Regions from separate parts of the Homo sapiens genome. Here all the other regions are linked to region 2. Evidence: promoter capture Hi-C in 16 types of primary human blood cells and fetal thymus (Javierre and others, 2016). All regions are on one chromosome and are shown on one strand. The core of a region is centred on a gene start or on the middle of the fragment in contact, and the rest is flanking DNA. Distances in the headings are between cores, read along the strand shown. Region 1 overlaps SLC41A2 (solute carrier family 41 member 2). Region 2 holds the start of TXNRD1 (thioredoxin reductase 1). Region 3 overlaps NOPCHAP1 (NOP protein chaperone 1). Region 4 has its middle 2.3 kb from the start of ALDH1L2. Region 5 overlaps WASHC4 (WASH complex subunit 4). Region 6 overlaps ALDH1L2 (aldehyde dehydrogenase 1 family member L2). Region 7 overlaps ALDH1L2 (aldehyde dehydrogenase 1 family member L2).

Region 1 (3,841 bases), core at 371-2,870, 720 kb after region 2:
GCAGCTGTACAATGTGTGTGTGTTTTAAGCTAAGTATTATTACAAAAGTCAATATTTTTAATATTTAAAGTTTATAAAGTAAAAATGTTACAGGCTGGGTGCAATGGCTTATGCCTGTAATCCCAACACTTTGGGAGGCCAAGGCAGGAGTTTTCCTTGAGTCCAGGAGCTCAAGATTACAGTAAGCTATGATTGTGCACTGCACCCCAGTGGATGACAGAGCAAGACCCTGCCTCTAAACAATTTTTTAAATTAAAATTGAAACAATGAAAAATTAAAAGTTGCAGTAAGCTATAGTTTAACAAAGAAAAATATTTTTGTACATTTTGTGTAGCCTAAGTGTGTTTATAAAGTCTGCAGTAGTGCACAGTAATGTCCTAGCCCTTAACATTCACTCACCATTCACTTACTGACTTACCCAGAGCAACTTCCAGTACTGAAAACTCCATTCATGGTAAATGCCCTATACAGGTGTATCATTTTTTATTTTTTATACTGTGTTTTTACTATACGTTTTCTATTTTTAGATACACAAATACTTACCATTGTGTAACAACTGCCTATAATATTCAGTAGAGTAATGTGCTATACAAACCTGTATAACACGTTACTGTACTGTAGCCTAGGAGCGATAGGCCATACCACACAGCCTTGGCGTGTGGTAGGCTCTACCATCTAGGTTTGTGTTAGCATACTCTATGATACGCAATGATGAAATGCATCTAACAACACATTTCTCAGAATTTATCCCCATCATTAAGCCCTTCATTAAGTGATGCATGACTGTATTTAGTGCCTTAGATTCTTGTTATCAAAGTGTGGTCTTGGGTCCAGTGGCATGGCATCAACTGGGAGACTAAGAAATGCAGGACCTCAGTCAGCTCCCATCCCAACTCAACCTCCTGAATCAAAGTCTGTACTTTAAATGGTATCCCAAAGGATTTGTGTTACTTTGAGAAGCACCTCCCAATACATTCAAAAAGGAATCATTTGATATTACCAGGCTTTCAAGTGTGAACAAGGATGTAAGCAGTGGTAATGCATACAGCCCTACTTGTGCAAGTATAAACTGCCAAAAGCACTTTGGAAAACAATTTGGCATTATCTACCAAAACTGAGAGGCATGTGCCCCACAGTCCAGCATTTCCATCCTTAAATCCCTGCCCTAAAGAAATTCACACTGTACACCGGAAGACACATGAAAGAATGTTCTTGGTAGCATTATCCATACTAGCAAAAAAAAAAATGGAATTAATCCATGAGAAAGGATAAATTGTGGCATATCTATACAATGGAATATAAGAATAAGGATATGACAAACACACATTTCAAGAGTGCTTACATTTGGTGAAGTGATACAAAAGCACCCAGGAGGTTCCAAAGGTATTGGTTATATTTTTTAAGCTTGGTGGTGGATACCTAGTGTTTATTATTGTTCTTCAAATTGTGCATATACAAGACTGCTTCGATGTGATTAATACTGTGATGGATGTTATTATTACTCCCCGTTATTGGTCCCCTCCTACAGGAGGATTCTCGTCTCTACCTGTTGCCATGTTATTTGCAAGGACTGTAGGAGAATTCTACTTCCTCATCTCCATTAGCATCAGGTTTGGCCATGGGACTCTCTTTGGCCATCAGAATAAGAGCAGCAGCAACACTTACAAACAGAAACAATTCAGCTATGTCTCTTTGCTCCCTCTGTCATGAGAATGGCATGTCCTAGGCAGTTGCTGCTTCTTCAGACTGGGTCCCAAGACAACGACAGATGGAGAGATACAGCAACCACAGCCACCCCACAGCAATCAACAGGGTACACATAACAGGAGAAAGAAATAAAGCTTTGTCCCAGAAAGCCACTGAGAGTTTGGAATTGTTTATTATCACAGCATGACCTAACAAAAGCTAACTTAAAAAGTATATGTTTTAAAAAGTAATCTGACCCACAAATTCCTATCCATTTTAGTTTAGGAGAGTCTCTCTGATATACTGAGCACTTAAAGATTGCAGTCTATGGACAAGGAGTTTTAAAACACTGGCTTCCAAACATTTGAATCTCAAAAACCAAAATTTCCTCCCAAAATTTTACAAAGTTAAAAACAATCTTTTCCTAAAAAATAAGTATACATTTTAACACCAAAAATGTAGAAAGGACAAAATCTCAGACTAAAGGGCAGTCCTTTTCACTGAACACATTTAGATTTATGGAAAAGTTCATTTCATGTTTCCTGTGAGACCTTTGTCATAGTTTACCACTGGTTTATAGAGTCATGTCAGGGAATCATTGACTTAAAGGAAAATAAGACCAGACACTCCTTATGAATTCAACTTTACTTACAAAAATAAAAAAGGGTCTTGTTCTGTCACTCAGGCTAGAGTGCAGTGTTGCAATCATAGCTCACCAAAGCCTCAAACTCCTGGACTCAAGTGATCCTTGCACCTTAGCCTCCCGAGTAGCTAGGACTATAGGTGCAGGACACCACACCCAGCTAATTTTTAAATAGTTTGTACAGACAGGGTCTTGCTATGTTCCCCAGGCTGGTCTCAAACTCCTGGCCTCAAGTGATCACTTCCTCCTGCCTATGCCTCCCAAAGTGCTGGTATTACAGGCACGAGCCACCATGCCCAGCCATAAAATTGCTTATTTTTAAAAATAAAGAAAACAAAGTATATTGTATGTATGTGGATTTACCAAACCAGAATATTGGAGAAACTCTGCCTATCGTACTGAAAGAGGCATTCTGTTCCATTGCAAAAGTTAAATAACAATGCTTAGGAAATCCAGTAGAGCTGAAAGTCAGGAGACACAGGTCATTCCTAATTACTAAGGATGGTATTAAATCAGAGTTTAACATTTTGTTTTCTTCCCACAACAATAAAAGAAAAAGTTTTAATGCAATCTATTACCAGTAATTATTTCATTTAGTTGAATATCCCAGAACTTGTTGAGCAGATATGTATATTTATATAAACATACTAAGATCCACAGTACTATCAGACACACATACACACATACAGACACACCTAGAAATAGACTTATTTTATGGTTATTATATATTCTTACTTTTGCCACTCTGCAAGGGTACCTTGTTCTTTTAATTTTTTCTTAAAGTATACCTCCTCTACGTTTCTGTTTCCTATTATTATTATTTTTTTTTTGAGACGGAGTTTCACTCTTTTTGCCCAGGCTGGAGTGCAACGGCGTGATCTCGGCTCACCGCAACCTCTGCCTCCCAGGTTCAAGCGATTCTCCTGCCTCAGCCTCCCGAGTAGCTGGGATTACAAGCATGCACCACCACCCCGGCTAATTTTGTATTTTTAGTAGAGATGGGGTTTCTCCATGTGGGTCAGGCTGGTCTTGAACTCCCGACCCCAGGTGATCCACCTGCCTCAGCTTCCCAAAGTGCTAGGATTACAGAAGTGAGCCACCGAGCCCAGCCTTATTATTTTTATTTTTATTTTTTTTAAAAAGGCTCACCTGGGGGGGAGGGGGGAGGGATAGCATTAGGAGATATACCTACTGTTAAATGACGAGTTAATGGGTGCAGCACACCAACATGGCACATGTATACATATGGAACTAACCTGCACGTTGTGCACATGTACCCTAAAATTTAAAGTATAATAAAAAACAAAAAAATAAAAAAATAAAATATAAGCTAAAAAAAAAAAAGGCTCACCTCTAAAATGGAATGAAAGTATCTGAAAGTATCTCCCTTTTATCTCCTTTTTTTTTTTGGCTAAAATACATAAAGTTAGCTCCTGGCCGGGCATGGTAGTTCACACCTATAATCCCAGCACTTTGGAGGGCCAAGGCAGGTGGATCACCTGAGGTCAGGAG
Region 2 (3,990 bases), core at 19-2,518:
TCTAGTGGATGGACTATTACATTATTATAATTATTCAAATTAATATTTTCCCGCTTCTTCCCTGCTTTCCTTCAAGAGGTGGGGGAGGCCACCTGGCCCAAGCTGAAGGCCAAGATACAAGAAAAAAATGCAAAGGTTCTATTTTGGCAGCGTTTACATGGGCAGGGTGTCGTGGGGAGGCTGGCGGAGGGAGTGGGAGCAGGTGACAGAGAATATAGGGTAAGTTAGAAGGCTCTCAGTGCTGGTAAAAATAAAATAGAGTAAAGTAAAGGGTGGGGGTAGAGTTGAGGGGGGCGTGATCAGATTTCTGTTCAAATAGGATGGTCTTTTTGCTGTGAACTTAAGACTGCTCTAAGGCCAGGCGCAGTGGCTGACGCCTGTAATCCCAGCACTTTGGGAGGCCGAGGCGGGCGGATCACAAGGTCAGGAGATCGAGACCATCCTGCCTAACACGGTGAAACCCCGTCTCTACTAAAAATACAAAAAATTAGCTGGGCATGGTGGCACACGCCTGTAGTCCCAGCTACTCGGGAGGCTGAGGCAGGAGAATCGCTTGAACTTGGGAGGCAGAGGTTGCAGTGGGCTGAGATCGCGCCACTGCACTCCAGCCTGGGTGACAGAGTGAGACTCCGTCTCAAAAAAAAAAAAAAAAAAAGACTGCTCTAAAAAATAAAGTGTATTAAAAAGAAACTACGATGTTCAGTGTATGCTTCATCTACGGTCAAAGAGGCAAAGACTGAAGTGACAGTGGAAGCCAGGTGGTTATCTGGGAGGCTTACAAGACTATGTGATAGTATGGAAAATACTAGTATTAAGTGAAATGCTGGATGCAAAACTATGCATAGAGGGGAAAAACTGGAAAGAAATAGTAAACACAGCAAAAGTAGTTTGTGTGAAGGATAAATTTTTTAAAATTATTTTTTGTAGAAACAGGGTTTCTCTACATTGCCCAGGATGGTCTCAAACTCCTGGGCTCAAGCGATCAATCCTCCCACCTCGGCCTCCCAAAGTGCACAGGTGTAAGCCACCGCGCCCAGCCGAAGGATAAGGATTTTGGGTGGTGCGCTCTTTTCTCCTTTCCATTTCTGCATTTTCCAATTTACCTTTAGCGACCGTTCTTTCCTGTTAAAAAAAAAAAATTCACGACCTTGAAGAAGATACACGGGCTATGACTTCGCTGTTGTCACCGAGCGCCCCGCCCACCGCGTTCTCCGACCCGCGGCCGGCAGGGGGCTCGCGGCCTCCGCCAGGCGTCCTTCGGCTCCGTCAGTTCCCACAGGGCCTTGTGCGACATGGGCTGCGCCGAGGGCAAGGCAGTGGCGGCGGCCGCCCCAACGGAGCTGCAGACGAAAGGCAAGAACGGCGATGGCCGCCGTAGGTCAGGTACGACCGAGGGCGAAGGCCTGGTCCCCAGGTCGACGGGCCGAAGCGGGCCTTCCGGCCGGGGTTGGGGATAAAGTGCCCCGGAGCCCTGGCCTTGAAGCCCCTCACTGGAGTCAGTGACTGACCGCGCGCCACGCTGGAGACCCCAGAAACGCTCCCCCAGGTCACCCCGGGAGACGGAGGCCGGCGGCCGGCCGAGGGCTGCCCCGCCCGCTGGCTGTGAGAGAGGTGGGAGGTGGAAGGAGGAGCGGGCCCGCCGCGAGGACCTGCCCGGAAACCTGTCGGAAACCGAACCGAGATCTCGGCAGCGACCCGCCTGATTTCGCTCAGGGCCCGTTAGGGCGTCCTCTTCCTACAAGCACCGTGTTTCCAATGAAAGGTTACGGGGGAAGCGACCAAACCGACAGCCGAGTCCGGGGGTGCCCCTTCACCTCTCCAGAAGCCCCCGGCCCACTCCCAGCATCCTCCTCCATCGAGAATCTTGTCCGACACGCCTTCCCGGCCCCCTTTCTCCATCCCCTTGAATTTTGGGCACATTTCTCCCACCATCATCCCGCTTTATCCTTTCACTTGTTCTTCCAGAAGAGAAAGCTCCCAGTCTCTTCTCCATTGTCCGGATAATGCCAATAATGGCTAGTGGTTACTAAGCACTGACATGAGAGGGGCCTTTGGAAGCACTAGACATGGGTAATAATCTTGGTTCATGTTTCCAGCCATACTGAGAGATTTATCATAAACCCCATTATACAGATGAAGAAACTGAGAAGCAAAGAGGTTATAAAACTTACCCAAAGCACACAACTAGTAAGTGGAAGAGCTGGGATACCAGTTGAGGCCATCTGACTCAAAAGCCCTGGTCATAGTCATATGGCCGCCTCCACCTTTTTTATAGGCTTGAGAAAGTGAGGCTCCAAAAAGTGCCTTGCCCAATGGCTAGAATTATTAAATGCTGTAGGATCTGCCTCTTTCAAAGGCTTACAGTTTAGTTACAAGGCAGCATATGGTGAAGGGCTAAAAGGAGTGGTAAAAACAGCCAAGTGGGGATGGCAGCTCCCATAGATGAGGTAGGATTTGGTAGAGGTGTCTGAAGGGAGAACATTCTTGTTAGGGGAAGCAGCCGGTGAGACCATGCTAGAGATAGGGAGGCCTGTATATCCTGCTGGAGTTAAGGACTTGGATTAGGGGAAGGGAAGAATAAAGGAACAGGGTAGGAGCAAGGTCAGGCAAGGTCCAGGTCAGGCAGCTAATTTGTGGCCATTAGTACAATGAAGGAGTTTGAGCAGGTGCATCCCAAATTGACGTTTCATGTGCCATCCTCAGGATCTTCTTGATATCTATGTCCTTCCATTTATTTACTGTTTTTCTTTAGCTACATTCTTTTTGTGTGTGGTTAAAAAAAAAAAATTTACCATCTTAACAATTTTGTTTTTTTTTTTTTTTTAGTTTCGCTCTCGTTGCCCAGGCTGGGGTGCAATGGCGCCATCTTGGCTCACCTCAGCCTCCACCTCCCAGGTTGAAGCGATTCTCCTGCCTCAGCCTCCCAAGTAGCTGGGATTACAGGCATGCACCACCACGCCTGGCTAATTTTGTATTTTTAATAGAGACAGGTTTTCACCATGTTGGTCAGGCTGGTCTTGAACTCCTGACCTCAGGTGATCTGCCCACCTCAGCTCCCCAAAGTGCTGGGATTACAGGCATGAGCCACTGCACCCAGCTGACCCTAACCGTTTTTAAGTATACAGTTTTCAGCAGTATTAAGTATATTCACATTGTTGTGAAGCAGATCCCCTGAACTTTTTCATCTTGCAAATCTGAAACTCCATGCCAACTCGTTAACTTTTCATTTGCCGTTTCCCCCAGCCCCTGGTATCCATCATTCTACTTTCTGTTTCTGTGAAATTTGGCTACTTTAGATTGCTTATATAAGTTGGTATCATACAGTGTCTGTCTTTTTGTGACTGGCTTGTTTCACTTAGCATACTTGTCTTCGAGTTTCATCTGTATTGTAGCATGCGACAGGATTTCCTTACTTTTTAAGGCTGAATAATATTCCATTGTGTGTGTGTATATGTACATACACACACACATATATACACACACACACACACAAAATGGAATATATATACACACACACACCACATTTTTTTTTTCCCGAGATGGAGTCTTGCTCTATCGCCAGGCTGGAGTGCCGTGGCATGATCTTGGCTCACCACAATCTCCGCCTCCTGGGTTCAAGCAATTCTCCTCCCTCAGTCTCCCAAATAGCTGGGATTACAGGCCCGCCACCATGCCCAGCTAATCTTTGTATTTTTAGTAGTGACGGGGTTTCACCATGTTGGCCAGGCTGGTCTTGAACTCTTGACCTCGTGATCTTCCCGCCTCAGCCTCCCAAAGTGCTGGGATTACAGGCTTGAGCCACCACGCCCGGCCTGAACTATTTTATAATACAGAAAAGCTCACTCGTTATAATACAACTTGCTAAATTTTTACAAACGAAGTATATGCATGCAGCCCACACTCAGCTGAGGAAATAAACGTTTCCAGTACCCCAGGAGCCCCTCTAATGTCTCTTACCCCCATACCAAGGGCAAACACTACTCTGATTTC
Region 3 (4,020 bases), core at 613-3,112, 780 kb after region 2:
GTAACTAACCAGCACATTGTGCACATGTACCCTAAAACTTAAAGTATAATAATAAAAATAAATAAATAAAGAATGCTGAATATAGGCCCCCGATCTCTTCTGGCTTGTAGAGTTTCTGCTGACAGTTCTGCTGTTAGCCTGATGGGTTTCCCTTTGTAGGTGACTTGCCCCTTCTCTCTCACTGCCTTTAGCATTTTTTCTTTCATTTCCACCTTGGAGGATCTGATGACTGTATGTTTTAGGTTGGTCTGCTTGTGTAGTATTTCACAAGGGTTTTCCGCATTTCCTGAATTTGAATGTTGGCCTCTCTAGCAAGGTTGGGGAAGTTTTCATCAGCGATATCCTGAAATATGTTTTCAAAGTTGCTTGGTTTCTCTCCCTTTCAGTCACATCAATGAGTCATAGATTGGGTCTCTTTTCATAATCCCATATTTCTCGGAAGTTTTGTCCATTCTTTATTGTTTTTTTTCTCCAATAAAGAAAAAGATGTTTCAGAGAGCCATCTTCAAGCTCTGAGATTCTTTCCTCAGTTTGGTCAATTCTGCTGTTAATACTTGTGATTGCATTATGCAATTCTTGTAGTGTGTTTTTCAGCTCTGTCAGATCGGTTTAGTTCTCTCTTATAATGGCCGTTTTGTTTATCAGCTTCTGTATCATTTTATTGTAATCCTTAGATTCCACGGATTGGGTTTGACTTTATCCTGTATGTTGATGATCTTCATTCCTGTCTATATTCTGAATTTTATTTCTGCCATTTCAGCCATCTCAGCCTGGTTAAGAACCATTGCTGGGGAACTAGTGTAGTTTTTTGGAGGTAAGAAGATACTCTAGTGCTTTTGTCAGTTTTTGCACTGATTCTTTTTTATCTTTGTGGGCTCATGTCGCTGAAGTTGCTATCCTTTGGATGATTTTTTTTCTTTTATCCTACTTTATGTCCTTGTGTGTTTAATTGTGGTATAAAGTGGGTTTAGTCAACTGGCTTCATTTCTAGAAGGTTTTCAGGGGCCAAGGCTCAACTCAGGATTCCTGGACTGTATGCTGTAATTCTGGGGGGCTGATATCAGGCCCCTGGCTTTGTTCTCTGGCCACTGGAGGTTAGGTACCTGCTGTGCTAGAGGGGCCAAGATATTTCTGGACCACTGGTCAGAACACTTCAATGGGTGGTGCCAGCCAAAGTGCTTTGTATGGCAGTGGCAGTGGGATCTGTCCTCATATGCACATGCCAGCAATAGCAGTGGGGTGCGGTGCACACTCATCAGCTTCAGAGGGGTGCTGGCAGTTGCAAGGGTGCTGTTTTTGTGCAGGCATTTGTAGTGGCTGTGGTGTTAGCATGGGGGTGGGGCGCTGTGGCTGCTGCTAGATTTTGTGTGCCCTCTGTGCGTGTGCTTACATGGGTAGCAGTGGCCACTCAGGGTAAGGGGGCGGGCTGCTGGTCTCCATGCATAGTTTCACACCACTGGCAGTGTTGACACAGGGGCAGGGTACTGGTGGCTGCGGGACTGGTGCCAAATGTGCGCACGTTTATGCTGGCTGCAGTGGCTGCACAGGGCGCAGGGCAGGTCCACTGGTCACTGTGCCTAGTTTTGCAGCTGGTGGCAGTGTTGGTGTCGGAGTGGGGTACTGGTGGTCTCCGTACCTGCAGATACTCCAGTGGCAGTGGCAGCATGGTGGTCGGGTGCAGTGTGCTCAAGCCAGCAGTAGTGGCATGGCCAGGTGCACATGTACCCACACACTGGCAGGAAATTGGAGGCGAGGTCTGTGTACACAGGTGCTGGCAAAGTGATTCGGGGGTTGGCTGCATGCCAGCGTCTGCAGGCAAGGTGCCATGGGGGAGTCTGCAGTGGGAGGAGAGAGTGGGATCAGGTGGTCTGGTGCACGGTCTGTTGTGGGTGGGGGTAGTACTGGAGTTCTCTGCCATTCAGGCACGATCTGCCAACTCAGGTGCTATAGCGTAGGCCCCCAGGACGCACCCCACCTGGGCATCTAAGGCTGCACTGCAAGCAGGGACAGCCAGGCTGAGGCCCAGGGAGAGGTCAGGAAACTGAGGAGTGCTTAGTTCCGATCGGCCAGGTCTCATAGGCAAGACTGCCCTGCATTTTTCAAGTCTGATAGTTCCTCTAGGGTTGAAGTCTCTTAGGGGAGCAAGGTGAGTCATGGGTGATGGGCGTCCCTGGCCATGATCCACTACAGATGCTCCCGCACCAAAGCCTCTGGGCTCTGCACCAGCTAGAATTCTGCCCTACCACTTCTCTAAGCAGCTCTCCCTGCAAGCTCAAGAGTCCATGGGGGTCCTGGGGTCTCCTGCCAGATTCCAGAGGCCTGTGGTGGGAGTCAGTTGCTGCTTGCCTGCTCAACTCACCCCTTTTCCAGGAGTCGGGGGCCAGGAACGAGTCTTAGTGTGTGGTAGCCCCTTGCAGGGTTCCCCGCTTCCTCCCTCTTCAGCCCAGCATCTGTGTCTTCCCTTCATCCACTCTCAGTGCCCTCCCTCTGAAGATCTGCTGGGAGTGCACCAGTCTTCCTGATATCCCAGTCTCTTGGTGGCAGATGTTCCTTCTGGCTGCATCTAGCTGATCATCTTGCCTCCAACCTGTTCCCTTTATAGCATAATGTGTATAACCACATTTAGTGGAAAAGCACCTTACTATATTTAATCCAATGACATTATACAAATAATCACCGGTGCCCACATAGATAGTCCCCAAGTCTTGAGTATGTGATACCTGGAAGCATAATATACCTTTTGTAGGCATCACTTGGTTTGATGTTCTATATTTGATAGTGGTTAGGTTATTAATTGGAAAGGTTGGGATATTCCTTTCAGTGAGTGTAGGCAAGCAAATAGCAGTGACATTTAGAACATCAAGGATTGCTTTCTCTTCCTTTGGGGTTTCAGGGTAATTCTCTTCGGGAACTCAGAGAGGTGTTGGCATTAGTGGAGTTGTTTCCTGGTTTTTACCCATTAGCCCACAAACCCAAACAGTTGCTCTGTTTTTTCTGCTAGAGCATGAGCCTTACCTAAAGCCATTGCAAATTATGGTCCTATGGATTTTCCTGTAAGGAAAAGGAAAGATTAAGACAATAGGAAATAAGGGAAAAAGAAAAGGGACATAGTTATCATGATGACAGAGAAGAGAACTCTTGATCCATGATCAAATTCTTACCACCCATACTGCAGCAAAAGTCTTGAGGGTCTGAACTTTTGCTGCAGTGTGGATGGTAAGAATTTGGTATGGTCCCTTCCATAGGGGTTTGAGGGCAGTGTTTCACTGATGTTGTTTTCAGAAGACCCAATCTCCATGTTCCAGATTGTGAAATGCTTGGTTGTCCTCCATTGATAGATCGTGAAAGGCTTTTTTTTTAACCTGGTGAAAATATACTTTGGCATAATACATTAAGGCCTTGCAGTATTTAGTCATGTCAGTTTACAGGAGCAGGAGATATATGAGGTTTAATTATTAGGGGCATAGGTTTTTCAGTAACTATTTCATAAGAAACTAATTTATTTTGTATTTTCTGTTGGGGTGGATCTAGTTGCCCATAAGGCCAATGGTAATACCTTTGGACGAGGCAATTCAATCAATTCAGTTAACTTTACCAATTTCAGTTTAAAGTTTCATTTGTTCTTTTGAGCTTTCCAGAAGATTAAGGGTGTTAGGGATGATGGTAATACCATTGTGTTCGATTAACTGTTTTAGCTGTTTTATAACTTGTCCAGTGAAACAGGTTCTTCTATTGCTGGAAATTCCTCCAGGGAAGCCCCAGAAGGAAACATACTTTCTAATAACTTATTGTCATAGCATTGGCCTTCCTACATGATAAAGCTTCTATCCGTCTAGAGAACACAAAGACTTTTATAAGAACATATTGTTATCCCATTAAGGGTGGCAATTGATGAAATCCATCTGTAAACATTCAAATGGTCCAGGAGGCAGTAGAAATGTACCACCTAAAATTTGGATTATCTTTCCAGGATTATGAGCTTGATAAACCAAACATTAGTTATAAGCCATTTTAGCAATT
Region 4 (3,649 bases), core at 480-2,979, 870 kb after region 2:
CATAGCACAGCCCGTAAAAGGCACGCCTGTAGACAGATAGGTAGTGGGGGCGCCTTCGCTGTGGAGGGATCCTGATGCCTACCTCGTAGGACGGTAGGCCGGGCGCGGTGGCTCCCGCCTGTAATCCCAGCACTTTGGGAGGCCGAGGAGGGAAGATGGCCTGAGCTCAGGAGTTCGAGACCAGCCTGGCCACCATGGTGAAACCCCGTCTCTACTAAAAATAAAAAATAATAAAATAATAAAATAATTAGCCGGGCGTGATGTCGCATGCCTGCAGTCCCAGCTACTCGGGAGGCTGAAGCACGAGGATCACTTGAGCCGGGGAGGCGGAGGTTGCAGTGGAGCTGAGATCATGCCACTGCACTTCAGCCTGGACAACAGAGCGAGACTCTGTCTTAAAAATAAATAAATAAATTGGTGCAAAAGTAATTGTGGTTTTTGCCACTGAAAATAATGGCAAACCCGCAATTACTTTTGCATCAACCTAATAGATACGTGCCCTTCTCCCTCACCTCTCTGGAAAAAACGCTCAGACCTGCTTTAGCTGGACGTTTATCTCAAGCCAGACTTCTTAGCCCAGCATTCAGGGCCGTCTGCAATTTGCCATTTTCTCTTATTTCTCACTGCTCTTTTGCATATGTAATTCTGCTTGACTGCAGTTCTTGCCTATTCCTTCTTGGACAATGTTTCCCAGAAAAGCTTGTCATCTGTCACTTGTAATTATCTTGGCACGACCGTTTCTTTTCTGAAAGGTACCGCTTACATGCTGCCTCCTGGAGGCGCTTTTTTCTGATTCTTTTCTCTCTTAGTCTCCTTATTCCCCATAAATAATTGTTCACTCCTCTTAACAGGAAATAATCTTTGTCTATGCATCTGTTATGGCTGTCTCAATCTGCTACTGGTATTTGTATACCTATTAACGTCTCTGTTGGAAGCTCCTTGCAAGCTAAGTCCATGTCTGATTAATCAGGATTTACAGTATCTAGCACTAACCAGAGCTTTAAAAAAATAATAATAAAATAAAAAATAACTTGTTAAAAAAAAACTTGTTGAAACGGATGAATGTGTTTAAGAGAGTAAGGAGACAAAAAAGAACCATCATTAAAACTTGGAGAATTGCGGTTGGGCGCGGTGGCTCACGCCTGTAATCCCAGCACTTTGGGAGGCCGAGGTGGGCGGATCACGAGGTCAGGAGATCGAGACCATCCTAGCTAACACGGTGAAACCCTGTCTCTACTAAAAATACAAAAAATTAGCCGGGCGTGTGGCGGGCGCCTGTAGTCCCAGCTACTTGGGAGGCTGAGGCAGGAGAATGGCGTCAACCCAGGAGGCAGAGCTTTCAGTGAGCCGAGATCGCGCCCCTGCACTCCAGCCTGGGCGACAGAGGGAGACTCTGTTTCAAAAAAAAAAAAACTTGGAGAATTGCAACAAACATCCAAGGTTTTGCTTTGAGCCCTACATCTTGCCAATTCAACCCACTTTCCTGACTGCATTTTGTGACTTCTTGCTTTTTTAAACTTCCAAATATTGATATTCCCTTTATTTATTCTGATCTGTGTATACTAGAAGGGTGCATAAGGAGGGGTTTTTTTTTTTTTTTTTTTTTTTTCCTGAATGAGGTTCCATAGTTATATATTACTATTCCCAAGTTTAGGAAATGTAGAATTTATGTTCACTCAAATATAATGAAATATTCATTGTGTTTACTTTTTCCCTGGAAGAATCAAAAGTATAGTTTCCTTGATAACTGGAAATTAGATCAGATGCAATTAGAGTTTGACAAAGAGACCAACCCCTGCCAATCTATTTCTATACCCAGCAAAAATACTCCTTAAAAATAGAGATAAGACAAAGCCATTTTTAGAAACAAAAACTTGAGAGAATTTGTCATCGGCAGACAGACAATAAAGGAAATATGAAAGAGTATCCTTCCAGCAGGAAAAAAAAATTTACCCACATGGAAACCTAGAAATGCAAGAAGCCCAACAAAAAAGGCAAAGACGTGAGCAAATTTAAAGTGAACATTGGACTGGACGTGGTGGCTCACGCTTGTATTCCCAGCACTTTGGGAAGATGAGGTGGGCAGAGTTCGAGACCAGCCTGGGCAACATGGTGAAACACTGTTTCTACAAAAAAATACAAAAATTATACAAAAATTAGCCAGGCATGGTCACGTGCCTCTAGTCCCAGCTTCTCGGAAGGCTGAGTAAGGAGGATCGCTTGAGCTGGCAGATTGAGGTTTCAGTGAGCTGTGGTTGTGCCACTGCACTCCAGCTGGGTGACAGGGTGAGACCCTGTCTCAAGAAAAAAAAAAGTGAACATTGACCACATGAACAATAATAAATTATTATAATTAATATAATAAAGTATTATGTTTATATATGTATACATGAAAATACACAAATATCCAAACAACAATAGAAAATTGTTGGATAAGTTTGTAGGAAAGAAAATAATCCCAGATGGAAACTCACAGATGAAAGAATGAATAGTAATGTAAAGGATTAATATGAGGGCAAATTTAAGTTAATATTAATTGTATAGAACAATAATAATAATGTTTTATGGAGTTCAAATATATATATGCATGTGCATAGACTATTTAATTCACTTTGTGCCATTTTTGTAAATACAATCATTTGAATAACTTTTTGTAAGTGTCTGGATTAATTTCACGCTTTAGAAAGTACATAGATGATGTGCCAAGTTGAAACCCAAGAATTCCCACACAAAACTCTATGAAAGTTAGAGTTCTATGTAAAGCTTGCATAGTAGGAGTGGCTAGGGTCTTGGGTTTACAGAATACTAAATTGGAATCTTTTTTATTTTTTATTTTTTGGAATTGGTGTCCCTGGAATGCAGTGGTGGGATCACAGCTCACTGCAGCCTTGACCTTCCCTGGCTCAGGTGGTCCTTCTACATCAGCCTCCTGGGTAGCTGGAATTCCAGGCACACACCACCATGCTCGGCTAATTTTTTTTGTATTTTTTTGTAGAGAAGGGGTTTTGCCATGTTGCCCAGCCTGGTCTCGAATTTCTGGCCTCAAGTGATCTGCCCACCTCCACCTCCCAAAGTGCTAGTATTACAGGCGTGAGCCACTGCACTTGGCCCTAAATTGGAATCTACTCATTCTGCCATAGACAAATGTTTTGTTTAGTGACTAATATCTGTGACATTAGGGGCCTTGTGCAAATATAATACGTTGATCAGGGATCTGTTTTGTCCTAGACACAACGTTCACTCAGAATTTTATGAAATTGCAAGTCATATAATTTATAAACTTCTAAAAATGTGTGTAGAACATTTTTACTTCCACAGTCAACTTCAAGGATTTTAGAACAAAATTCTATGGGTTTCCATGCCCTCTTCTTGTTTGGTTGCTTTTTGACTGAAATTAACATGTAGCCATATTGACTATTTGGAAACATTGCTGTTTCTCTCTATATTTTTAAATTTTGCTCTGCTGAATACTCTGTTTTACCATATATAAGAGTGATGTGAGCTAGGCTAGTGACTCACGACTGTAATCCCAGTGACTTGGGAAGCTCAGGCAGGAGGATCGCTTGAGGCCAAGAGTTCAAGACCAGCCTGGGCAATGTAAGGAGACCCCCATCGCTAAAACAACAACAACAACAACAACAACAATTAG
Region 5 (3,952 bases), core at 560-3,059, 940 kb after region 2:
TACAACACTGGGGAATGTGGCAGGATGCTAAAGGTGAAAGTAGGGAAATCAGGAGGCCATTGCATATTGCAGTGCTCCAGCCAAGAGCTGGTGATGGATTGGATAGGAGGATATCTATGAAGGGGTGAATGAAAAGTGGGTGGATTCTGGCTACGTTTTCAAGGCAAAGTCAATATAATTTGCCCAGTCATTTTGATTATAAAATGTGAGAGAAAGGAGCCAGGGATGACTTTAAGACATTTGGCTTGAGCAACTGAAAGGATAGAATTGCCAGTTTCTTTGATAGGCAAAATTGGGGATAAAGATCCTGAGCTTGAGTTGGACATATGAAATATAAAATTCTTATTAGACATAAAAGTGTAGGCATCGGATAAAAAAACCTAGAGTTCAGAGGAAGAGTCCAGGCCAGAGATATAAATTTGGGAGGCATCAAATAAAGATTTCTTGATATCACTTCCAATTGTGTATGTGGCGGAGATTGAATCTCAATGTGAGAGGAGAAATTATTGATATTATAATTTTAAGCTTGACCATTTTAATGTAGTCAGCATTTAATGATTTTAGTTTATCAAATGAAAATAACATTTACTTTTAAATATTTAATATAGTTATATATAAGTATGTATGTTTATATTTTAAGTGTAGAAATATGTAACAGTTTTACTTTTTATGATAAGAACTGAAGTAAAATATAGCAAAATATTTTGGTTCTTAGGAGTGGAAACCTTGTAATTTACTACTGTATGTAACTATATTCCTATTAGAATTTAGAGTTATTTATATAAATATCTGATTTTTTTGTGTGGTTTTTAAGGTAATGCTATGGGCTATGTACGAATGATAAGATCTGGTGGTCTTCATTGTAGCAGCAATGCCATTAGGTATGGATGCAAACATCATTTTTGCCTTGTTTATGCCATTTTAAAAATTGTGTCCATTAAATATATGTTACAAGTGATATTGTAGATAAGGTGTTTGTTCTTGATATATTTTGAGATAAAATATGGAAGAAAACTATTAATTCTACTAGATTTTTCTCAAATTTTAAGACTGCAGCAGACTTCTGAAAATATTTCTCTTAAGTTAATTTATCAATATGGTTTATGAATGCATGTAAAGATTACATGATTTTAAGGATTAAAATATTCATATCTAAAATTCAATTTGGAACTAAAGTGGTGATATGAATAATATTACTGAAATGCACAGTTGTTTCCAAATACATAGTTGAAAATTTTAGAGTCCTGCAGTACCACTTTTATATCTGTGTCAATTGCACATATTTTACTTGACCTAATAAATGCCTTCCCAAATTCTTATGTAGATTTGTTCCTGATCTTGAAGATATTGTAAATTTTGAAGAACTAGTAAAAGAAGAAGGTCTTGCAGAAGAAACATTAAAAGCAGCAAGGTAATCTAAATTTGGAAATATAAAAAAGTGTGTTTATAAAAAACATTCTGAAGAGAAGACCAGAGGGTAATATGTAATTTTTATGCCACTGTTTTTATTATACAAAATTATGGCCTCAGTTTATGAAGTATAATTTTTAAGACTTCAGTATTCTAAGACCTTTCCAGCTTCTAGAACATGCTGTCCAGTATTTCAGCCACTAGCCACACATGGCTCTTGAGCACCTAAAATTTGGCTGGTCCACACTGAGATGTGCTCAAGTATAAAGTACATAACTAACCTTGAAGATTTAGTATAAAAGGAGGAATGCCAAATACCTCAATCATAAAATTCATTTCACCTATTTTCTTTTTACTTTTTAAAATATTTCTCTTCACCAACAGTGTTCTAGAATGCCAGTCCTTTCTTATATGTAATCTATAGCAGCACTGTAGCCACTACCATATATGGCCGGTAAACACTTAAAATATGGCAAATGCGACTGGGGAATTGAAGTGTAAATTTTATCTTAATTTAAATTTAAATAGCTAATGTCTGTCTTATTGAACAGTGCAGGACTTGAGTCAGTTGTGCATTTGTCCCATAACACGAGAGGCATGCAGAATTGGTAAGAATATGTTTAGAAAACTGTATGTTTTATTCACACTTATAGCAGGTTATTGAATCAGGCATGAAGGGGCACCCCTGGGCAAGGGGGAGACAATTTGATCAAAAAGAATAATGATAGATAAAAATCTGTTGAATAAAAAAAATCAATGAGTCATAATGATAAGAAGGGTTATCATAAGAAGATCATAATGATAAGAGAATGAAAGTCATTTCTTTATGGAAGAATGCTTGTTAAATTTAGGGGGGAAATTGTAACCATCACTGTAATACTTGAAATCAAGCAAGAATCCCCAGTGGTTTCTAAAACATTAGGTGAAAAGTTTTTAGAGAACAGAGGATTCATTCAGTAATTCATCCCATAAAATTGCTTATTAATTACAAAGGAGAAAACTGTCTTTACAGTGGAGAAATATATTCCACCTTGGCCAAGTGATCAAACTTAGCATCACCAGTAATGGAGCAGACAGATGTAATGTGGCCTCTTGATGCAATGTAATGTCAAGTACCTAGTTTGTATTCTTGCCAGAAATGTTTATCCTGAATTTATTAGGAGGAAATGTCCTGAAAAATTTAGAATGTGAGCATTTTATGAAACACTTGGCCTGGACAAAAAATACACGGAGATTGTTCTAGATTAGGAGAATAAAGAGACCTGATAATCACATGTAATGGGTGATACTTAATCATATCCTAGATAAGGAAAGAAACAGCTGTAAAGGACATTTGAGGAATAATTGGGGGACATTTGAACATGGATTGTATATTAGTTAATACTGTATTATATTCTTGGGTATAACAGTGTTTTGTGGCTTTGTAGAAAAATGTTTTCATTCTTAATAGATTCATGCTAAAGCATTAATGGGCTAAGTGATAAAAGGTCCACAACTTTCAAGTGTTTCAGAAAAATAGAGAAAACAGTTGTGTCAAAATGTTAACAAGTGGTGAATCTAGTTGAAGGGTATACGGGTGTTCATTATACTATATTTTAACTTTTTGATAGGCTTGAAATCTTAAAAAATAAAAAAGTATATGGGAAAATGCATGCATTTCTGTGAGAATAAGGCCCCAGCACAGAAGCTTTGCTCTGGAATAGTCTGTTAGATAGCTTAAGCTCTTTGCCAGATTACATAAGCCATTTACAAAGTTAAGCCATTTGAAGTCATGTGCCTGAAAATGGTTTAAATAGTTTCTGATGTGTGTCTCAAAGGAAAGGATCAGACCTTTACCTTATGTTAAATGATGCCATTCACTCCGAAAGTGTTGACCATTTAAAAAATATTTTGAAGCAGTGTGAGGAAATCAGAGAGTAGGATATTGTCTTCTAAGATCTCTAGGGTAAAGCTGACTGCTAGTTGGAAGATCCAGATTGGTGCAAGGGAGTGGTTGATTGAAGTCAAGGAAATGTAGGGTCATGATAATGAATAGATTATCTGCATAGACAGGGGAGAACTGGAGCAGGCATCCTAATCCTGCGTAATTGTAGGACGGTGGTTAAAAGGTTAGTAGATGTCTGCTGTTAGGAAGAAGTAGTTGAGTATTTGGGTAGTTAGATATAGTTGGATTATGTGAGTCACAAAGGAAGATTTCTTTCTTACAGTGGTGGAGGAATAATAATTGAAAGTGGTAGTAGCTGTACATGAGGGATGCAGGAGAAAAAGCAGCTGATGTTTTTGAAGGTTGAGAGGGAAACTGAGTTCTTGAAAAAAAGAGCCAGGTTTATGTTGAGGTAAGGGGATGTAGGAGAAACGTTAGAGATTTAAGGGGAAGAGGAAATATTTACAATGAAGAGGAGTTCTACAGGCCTCACTGTGGGAAGAAGAAATACAGAACTATTATTTTAAGTCCCAAGATGTTCTAATAGTCTATTTTTGGGACTAAATTTACTAATATTGATCAGTTTTCTGTCCATGAGAAAATAAGTTTATTCTGAAC
Region 6 (4,047 bases), core at 19-2,518, 820 kb after region 2:
TTTAAAAGTACGCTGCTTATTTTTCCTTTCTTACAAAAGTATTTTTATTTAAAGCATTTTGAAAATACCTACCCCAAAATGCAAACAGAAGAAAAAAATCACAAAATTCCATTCCATGCCTCAGTGACCATTGTTTTTACCATTTTGATATACTACCTATTTGTGATCTGTCCTACCATAGCTTTTGCGTTGTTTAACATAGTTGAGATCATCCAGTGTATACAATGTTATACTTTATTTTTATTTCCATTTATTATTTTAACAACACTTTTCAATGTTATTAAAATTCTCTATGAACATGACTGCACAGTGTTCCATTACATTGACATATTTTAACAACTGCTTTATTTTGGACATTTAGATTGCTTACAGCTTAAAAAAAAATTGCTTTGGCGGACTCCATTTATAAATAATCCAGGTTTGTCATATAAAATATATAAATTTCACATTTATGTATCTTTTTGGTTTTTTACCCATACTCTGAGAACAATTTGGGCCACAGCTTTAATACAGGAAGTCTTTTGTGCTGAATTGTTAAAACTACCAGTAGGGCACAGAATTTCAACATAGCTTTGGTTTTATTGACTCTGGGCTTTAATGCTTTGGAAAGTATTTTATTGTATTCAAATATTTCAATACTCAGCAGTGATAAGTAGATTTCCCTTCCAAAGTTGATGTAGTTTTTCTCACTCAAAAAGTACCCTGTTTAAACAAAAATTGAAACCTAGTTTAACAGGATCTGCAGTGAATCAACATTTTAAAACCAATACCTCTTCATGATCTGTTTGCCAATAGGAGTGGATCCAGTGAAACCAAGTTTGCGGATGTCAGGATGTTCAGACAGACGTTGTCCTGCTATGCCACCTGTAGAATTAGGGAATAAAACGGGAATTAAAACATACTCAAGGCCGGGCGCGGTGGCTTACGCCTGTAATCCCCGCACTTTGGGAGGCTGAGGCAAGCAGATCACAAGGTCAGGAGATCGAGACCCGCCTGACCACCATGGTGAAACCCTGTCACTACTAAAAATATAAAAATTAGCCAGGCATGGTGGCACACGCCTGTAATCCCAGCTACTCAGGAGGCTGAGAGAGAATCACTTGAACCCAGGAGGCGGAGGTTGCAGTGGGCCAAGATCGCGCCTTTGCACTCCAGCCGGGGCAACAGAGTGAGACTCCGTCTCAAAAAAAAAAAAAAAAAAAAAAAAAAACCTTACTCAAATTCTTATAGTGAAGATGGCTTTAAATTCATTGAAGTAGATTTCTAAGCTCTCCTTGACACCTTAGTTTTACATTTTCTGTATTAATTACAAACTGATAAAAGTCTGAAATAATACCCTTTATGAAATTATCAGACTCCCAAAATAATGATGGGTAAGCCTTGATTTTTATCTTCCAGAGTAGTTTTTGAAAATCAAAATGGAACATCTTAGGGTAATTTTACATGACTGTACAACCCCCCTCCCCACTGCCACTCACCCACCACTGTATTTCCATTTTAAGATTTTAGCACATGGTAAGTATATTCATCCTTAACTGTTTGGTGAATTGTATTTAGTTTTAATACAGTTATAATTCAGGACAAGTCTCTAGAGGTAAAAGAGCCACTCAGCTACCCCAGTACCATTCATTAGTTATAGCACAGTCGGTCATTTAGTGGCTTACCTGAGCCTGGAATGATGTTGATGACCCCCTTTGGAAAGCCTGCTTTCACAGACAGTTCTGCAAACTTCAAAGCAGTCAAGGGCGTGACCTGAGGAGAAGCAAACAGCAATTACCTTCTTCAGGCCCTAACCTGACCTTTAGCCCAGAACCCAGTTTTCCCTTGATAGCTGCACTAGATCTCATTTTATTTTTATTGTACATTGTCTTATTTTTTTGCCATAATTTCAGACTTACAAAAAGATGCAAAAATAGTACAAGTATTCCTTATATACATTTCCATTCAGATTCCTCAAATGTTAACATTTTACTGCATTTGCTTTATCTTTCTGTATATATTTTTCTAAACTATTTTTTAAAGATAAATTTAAGGAATATCTGTTTCTGAACTGTTTAAGAATACGGTAAAGACATACCCCATACTTCTAAATACTTCTGTGTGCATTTTCTATAAAACAAGAAATTCTTTTACATAACCATAGTACAATCATCAAAATCAGGAGATTAACAATTGATAGAATACATGATTTGCAGACCATATTCAGATTTCACCAATTATCCCAATAATGTCTTACAGCAAAAGAAAATCCAACATCTGCATTACATTTAGTTCTATCTGTAGTCTCCAGTAATCTAGGAGAATTTCTCAGTTCTCTTTTCTATTTCATTACACTGACATTTTTGAAGAGTACAGGCCAGTTATTTCATACAATGTCTCTTTGTCTGGATTTGTCTGATGTTTTTGCATGGTTAGATTCAAGTTATGCACTTTTGGGAACAATGCCACCGGAGCGATGCTGAGCTTTTCTCAGGACATCAGGAGGCACGTGCTGTAGAATAGTTCCAATACTGGAAAGTTAGTTTTGATTATTTGGCAAATGTGGTCTGCCAACTTTCATCACTGTAAATTACTATTTTATACATTGTAGTTAACAAATATTTTGTGGGGAGATACTCCTCAAATTTTTATCCACTAGTTTTAGTGTCCATGGATAATTTCTGGATAATAATCCTAAAGTATCATGATGGTTGCCAAATGGTGATTTTCCAATTCCCTCATTCCTTTTACGTGTAGTAGTTGGCTCTCTACTCTAAGTGTTTTCCATTCTGTTCAATTAATTAATATCAGTGTGAACACAAAGATTCTTACTGTAATCAGCAGGTTATCATCGTTTACTATTGTTACTGATTTTGATGTTCAATTGTTCTAGATTTGGCTGAGGCAGTCCCTTCAGTACGGCCCCTTATCATTCTGACGTGCCCCTATTACTTTGAGCATTACATTGCTTTCAGGCCCAACAAGATATTTCAGATTCATCTTGATTCTTCCCTACTCCAGCTACTTCTCCAAGGAGCCCAAGTTTCTTTGAGTGAAGAATGGTATTTTAGAAACCAAGATATCTGGACATTATTGAGGGGTCATCGCTTCTAGGCCCTCTTAGCAGACAGAGCTGGGAAAGAGATGTATGTATACACAACACACACACACACGTCTACATGTATGTGTGTATCTATCCCTCATATACCTATATCCATTTCTTTATTTAGCTATCTAAATACATTAAAACCCATGAGTTTACACTGATACCTTTATCCGATATCTTAGGGTCGATTCTATCCTTCTGCCCTTTTTACATTTGTCATTCTCTTCTCCAAGAAAGAGAGACATGGCTCCCATTATCCACAATACATTTACTTATTTGCTTAATCCTAAAACATAGAGAAAGTAATTTGAGAATTGTTAAGCCATGTCCCTATGAAAAAGAAGCCTATTAATTAGAGTTTAATATGTATTTGGGTTTTTTTGTTGTTGTTGTTTTGCGTTGCCTTTATCCTGAGGACATATAGTCCAAAGTTAGTCAAAAGTGACTTGGGTTCATGCTTCCTCATTCTCTTCAATGGGGTCATGTTATTCATTTGAAATATGGCTTAATTTGTTTTGTTTATATTTAATTTTAGGGTTTTGGCCCCATCTTTGTTGATTATATTTCTTTTCTTTGCTGTCATTAAATATGGGGACTATGCTTCCAAAAGTCAGGACTATTCAAAACATCCATTCAGAGAATGTTGTTCTCCCACCCTCCTTTCCACCCCATTCATCCCATGTTCTATAGATAATTTCATTAGTCTCTAGTTTATCTTTCCTGTTTCCTTTTATTCAAATCAGCAAATACATATTTTCTTATTTTCCCTTCTTTCTCACATAAAAAGTGGCATAATATGGATCTCACCTTAAACATCTATTATAGCAATGCAAATCTCCAAAGCAAAATGAAAGCAATACCTTCACACTCTTAAAAACCAACGTCCATTCAGTCTTAAGTCAGTATTTGGTTAGCTTGGACTCTAAAAATGGGGTGTGCAAGAGGATCCATTGAGGTGGGAA
Region 7 (4,002 bases), core at 395-2,894, 850 kb after region 2:
AGACTCCTGCTTAACTGCTGAGATTATCAAGACAATCACATGAAGCCCTTGCCCCTAAGGAGTTCACAGTCTAGTGTTGGGGGGAATAAAGAGACCCTCACAATATATGATGTGCGATGCCAGAGGTAGGCAGAGTGTTGCTGGAACCCAGAGATGGGCCATCAGACCCTGCCAGTCTGGGCATGTGAGATCAGGAAACCTCCCCGAAGAGGTGAAACCTGAGAGCCTGGGCTGAGTCAATTACCCATGGATAGAAGACCCTTCAGGCCCTGCCCGCCTCTCCCGCCTCAGCTCTCCCCATGCCTGTCCTCACAGTTCAGACCCTGGCTTCACTGAACTCCTTTTGCAAGTCCTTGACCAGGTGCTGGAGTCTCTTATCTCTGGGGCTTCACCTACTTGTCTTGCTCTCAACCTGGTTAACTCTTCTCGAGCAAAGCAGTGAGCTTTTCTAGGAAGCCTTTCCTAACATGCCTGAGTCTCAGCCTCCATGATAGCGTTTATCTTACTGCACTGAGAATGTTTATTCACTTCTCTGCACTCCCCATAAAACTGCAGGCTCCTTAGATCAGGCGCTGGATTTAGTGTCTGCTGCACAATAAATGCTTAATACATGCTGAGTAAAGGGGAGAGTGAATCACAGACCTGCCTCATGACCAAGGAAGAACCATGGGAAGCCCAGATTTATCTGTAATATCTCTTACAAAGGTAATAATCGGGGAGGGGGGTGGGGGGAGTGGTCCCTAAAACATACCTGTCCATTTATCTCTGTCCAAGCTCCAGGGACTTTATCATGACCTCGAATCCAGTTATGTAAAACTTCGGCAGACTGGTCCCAAGAAATCTAGGAAGGCACAAAATACAGGCTGAGCCTCCTATGGCTGTGAACCTCAAAGGCAATAAAAACGCTTCTCGTCATCAGAGGCAGAAACACTTGTTATTGGGAAATAAAGGAATTTTTGCTTCTTAGTTTTATTTGGAGTAAGTATTTTGTCAGGTGGCTGATTTAGTAAACAAGAGACTTTATTAAAGGAAAATAAAAAGCAGAGGGTTATTTAAAGGGACAGTATGCTTTGTAAAGATGAAGTAGAGCGGGCTGTTGAGGGGAGTAGGCCAGTAGCTGTTGGAGAGTTTTATGTTGGGTTTTTATTAGGTTGAACTTTTTTTTGAAGTTCCCACCTCTGTTAAGTCTCTGCCTCTTTTTTTTTTTGTCTAGTTTGTTTGTGTCTGTCTTAGCTCTCTGCTTTGTCCGCACCTAGATTTTGTCTCAGGTTTATGGGACCCTCCATATTATTAGTTGGTGTGTATGTGTGGATTGGTGTTGGATATGAATATTACCTGATGCCTGTGTTGTTTACTATTGTCACTGCAGGGAGGTTGTATAGTGGCCAAATCTATACCTACTGCATCTGTGTGTTTTTTTGGAATTTCCTTCTCTGCCCTAAGCTGAACTTATGGCTCCAGGTTTTTGTTTTTTGTTTTTTGAGACAGGGGTCTCACTGTGTTGGCCAGGCTGGTCTCGAATGCCTGGTCTCAAGTGATCCTCCTCCCTCAGCCTCCCAAAGTGCTGGGATTACAGGCATGAGCCACTGTGCCCAGCGCACCTAGCATGCCAGATTTTTTAAGGAATATCCCCTTTGCCCTTTTCATTAGCATGTAGCTAGTGATATTTTGACATTTTAACTGCAGAGCGAAGGATTGTTGGGCAGACTGAAGAGGCGTTTCTGGGCATTTTTTATTTGCTTGTTTGTTTGTTTGTTTGCATAGTATCTCCTCTCCTTTCTATGCACATTTGACTAAGTGCCCACCCACTCCAGCATTAGAGATACTATTAATATGCAAATTTTGAGTGGTCTTCCAGACACGAGTCTTCCTAGACTTTATTTTCTTTAGGGGACTCCCCTCTCCTGCGTATGTCTGGCTACCTGTCTACTCTAACAGGTAGGGCTAGGGCAAGCTGGCTTACCTTTTGGCAAGATCATAGTATGTGGGGAACTACTGAAGGGTAGAGGGCCATGAACTCTGAGACGTGTTATTGAGTTGATATATAAATACCTCAGCATTTTCCTTTTTCTGGATACCTTCATATGTTGCCCCTTCTTCTGGCTGGGGTATACGAGGAGCTTTTCCATCAGCTATGAGTTGGACAGCTTCTACCTAAGGCCAAAGACATCACCTGTGTTACAGCCCAATGATCAACAATGGCATGGTCTATTTGACTAAAGTTTCTGCATAACAGAATTACTACCTATAAACCTGTTCAGAGAGTCAAGAGTATGATGATAACTACCATTTCTTCAGGTCCATCCTGACAAGCAGTGTGGTAGCTACTTTATGTAAAATATCCCTTGAAAACATAACACAAATCCTGCAAGGTGTATATTGTTATTCCTGTTTTACACCTGAGGAAACTGACAGAAAAAGAGCTAAGCAAGGCCGGGCGCAGTGGCTCACGCCTGTAATCCCAGCACTTTGGGAGGCCAAGGCAGGCGGATCACGAAGTCAGGAGATCGAGGCCACGGTGAAACCCCGTCTCTACTAAAAATACAAAAAATCAGCCGGGCGTGGTGGTGGGCGCCTGTAGTCCCAGCTACTCAGGAGGCTGAGGCAGGAGAATGGCGTGAACCCGGGAGGCAGAGCTTGCAGTGAGCCGAGATCACACCACTGCACTCCAGCCTGGGCGACAGAGCGAGACTCTGTCTCAAAAAAAAAAAAAAAAAAAAGAAAAGAAAAAGAAAAAGAGCTAAGCAATTGGCTGAAGATCACAGAGAGAGCTTGTAGGTGTCAGAAACAGGATTTGTATCCAGGTCTATCTATTGCCAATCGAAGTCTGCACTCTCAAAAATGACTCCCTTGTTTAAACAAACTGCCACCTCCCTTAGTGATTCACTGGAAATGATAGGAATATAATGATAAAATAAGTCTTTATGAGTTATTTTACTCATCATGATGATTCTAAAAAATGATACCTTACTGTATTTAATGAATTCAACTTGCTTTCTAGTTTAGGAGACCTGGAATAAAAAAAGTTAAAATCTATCCATGAGCTTGATTGCCTTTGGGAGGTGTCCTGCATTTTCTTCTCTGTTATATTTACGTTTGCCTTGAGTCGAGAGCCTCCCATTTTCACTGCGAGGCCCACGTGAGTTCAAGTTCTCAGATTTCTCTCTAAGGACTCACAGCTGCTGACCAACCCACCCAAGAGCACACGGAGGGAGCCACAGGGGAACAGAGCCAAGTTTACAGCTCATTCCACCCACCTCCATCTAGGCTATAACTAGGTCTAGAATCTGGGCTTCAGCAAATATCACTGAACACACAAAATGCTATGTTGATTGTAATGATCATTTTATGAGCACCTACCATGGGCCAGATGCTTTGCACAAATAGTGTCACTTAATTTCCACAACCACCCTACAAGTCAGGTGGTATTATCCATGCTGTATAGATGAAGAAACCAAAGCTACAGAGGCTAAGCGACTTGCCTGTGGTCATGCAACAAAGAAGAGGTAGAATGGAAACTTGAGCTTAGGTCTTTCTGACATCGAAGCCCTACTCTCTTAATCATTGAATGATACAAGCAAAGCACTGCTTTCCTCTCTCCTAAATCAATGGCTACTACTGTATATAATCTTGCTACTTCTTTCATACTAGCTCTGAAAAAAAATTAAATGACATCAAAATTATCAGCTGGAGCTTTCACTATTTGTGTAGGCTAATATTGCAATATTTTTATTTGATGGTATACATGTTTTGGGATTTTTTTTTTTTTACCCCAGAATACGTCTGGATAAATACAGCAACACCAAATTTCACCCTGTTACAGAGGCTAATTTAAAGTACTTTTAAATTTCCATAACAAATTACGTAGCAAAATTTCTTAAGATTCAATCTACTTCTTTACAATTAATCATTATAGGCAGGGTTGAAGATTCAAGCATTTGGCAAAAGAATGGAGCAGTTTAAATGCTACTGCATCCATTGGATCACTGCTCTCAGAAAAAT

What was found. Contacts are between HindIII fragments. The CHiCAGO score rates a contact against its expected background, and 5 or more counts as called.
Region 1: a contact is called between a fragment that was not itself captured here and the fragment with the promoter of TXNRD1 in region 2, in 1 of 17 cell types (total B cells). The highest score is 5.4, in total B cells.
Region 3: a fragment that was not itself captured here is called in contact with the fragment with the promoter of TXNRD1 in region 2 in 5 of 17 cell types (neutrophils, naive CD4 T cells, naive B cells and 2 more); the score reaches 7.1 in neutrophils.
Region 4: a fragment that was not itself captured here is called in contact with the fragment with the promoter of TXNRD1 in region 2 in 10 of 17 cell types (endothelial precursors, monocytes, total CD4 T cells and 7 more); the score reaches 8.8 in endothelial precursors.
Region 5: a fragment that was not itself captured here is called in contact with the fragment with the promoter of TXNRD1 in region 2 in 1 of 17 cell types (M2 macrophages); the score reaches 5.4 in M2 macrophages.
Region 6: a contact is called between a fragment that was not itself captured here and the fragment with the promoter of TXNRD1 in region 2, in 15 of 17 cell types (neutrophils, total CD4 T cells, activated CD4 T cells and 12 more). The highest score is 11.8, in neutrophils.
Region 7: a contact is called between a fragment that was not itself captured here and the fragment with the promoter of TXNRD1 in region 2, in 14 of 17 cell types (total B cells, naive CD8 T cells, naive B cells and 11 more). The highest score is 11.4, in total B cells.

The regions. Positions count from the first base shown.
Region 1 is chr12:104,936,872-104,940,712 of GRCh38, forward strand. The region is part of intron 1 of SLC41A2 (solute carrier family 41 member 2); the gene reads right to left. Among named protein-coding and RNA genes, the nearest start is that of SLC41A2, 19 kb to the right of the region's middle. The HindIII fragment of the contact is 437 bases long and covers 1,403-1,839 here.
Region 2 is chr12:104,214,511-104,218,500 of GRCh38, forward strand. It overlaps TXNRD1 (thioredoxin reductase 1), which reads left to right and starts at 1,269. Exons shown (of 17, transcript NM_001093771.3): 1 at 1,269-1,383. The coding sequence starts at 1,293. RefSeq lists enhancers at 1,045-1,661, 1,662-2,277 and a silencer at 1,132-1,221. The HindIII fragment of the contact is 5,942 bases long and covers 1-3,990 here.
Region 3 is chr12:104,997,441-105,001,460 of GRCh38, forward strand. NOPCHAP1 (NOP protein chaperone 1) reads left to right here. Exons shown (of 4, transcript NM_152318.3): 4 at 1-4,020. Among named protein-coding and RNA genes, the nearest start is that of NOPCHAP1, 13 kb to the left of the region's middle. RefSeq lists an enhancer at 1,649-2,149. The HindIII fragment of the contact is 3,914 bases long and covers 1-3,819 here.
Region 4 is chr12:105,084,951-105,088,599 of GRCh38, forward strand. No RefSeq gene overlaps it. Among named protein-coding and RNA genes, the nearest start is that of ALDH1L2, 2.3 kb to the left of the region's middle. The HindIII fragment of the contact is 2,064 bases long and covers 698-2,761 here.
Region 5 is chr12:105,155,912-105,159,863 of GRCh38, forward strand. It overlaps WASHC4 (WASH complex subunit 4), which reads left to right. Exons shown (of 33, transcript NM_015275.3): 27 at 815-881; 28 at 1,325-1,411. Among named protein-coding and RNA genes, the nearest start is that of WASHC4, 50 kb to the left of the region's middle. The HindIII fragment of the contact is 2,572 bases long and covers 524-3,095 here.
Region 6 is chr12:105,038,943-105,042,989 of GRCh38, forward strand. ALDH1L2 (aldehyde dehydrogenase 1 family member L2) reads right to left here. Exons shown (of 23, transcript NM_001034173.4): 16 at 1,665-1,752; 17 at 771-864. Among named protein-coding and RNA genes, the nearest start is that of ALDH1L2, 43 kb to the right of the region's middle. The HindIII fragment of the contact is 6,154 bases long and covers 1-4,047 here.
Region 7 is chr12:105,064,516-105,068,517 of GRCh38, forward strand. It overlaps ALDH1L2 (aldehyde dehydrogenase 1 family member L2), which reads right to left. Exons shown (of 23, transcript NM_001034173.4): 5 at 2,053-2,154; 6 at 752-841. Among named protein-coding and RNA genes, the nearest start is that of ALDH1L2, 18 kb to the right of the region's middle. The HindIII fragment of the contact is 7,481 bases long and covers 1-4,002 here.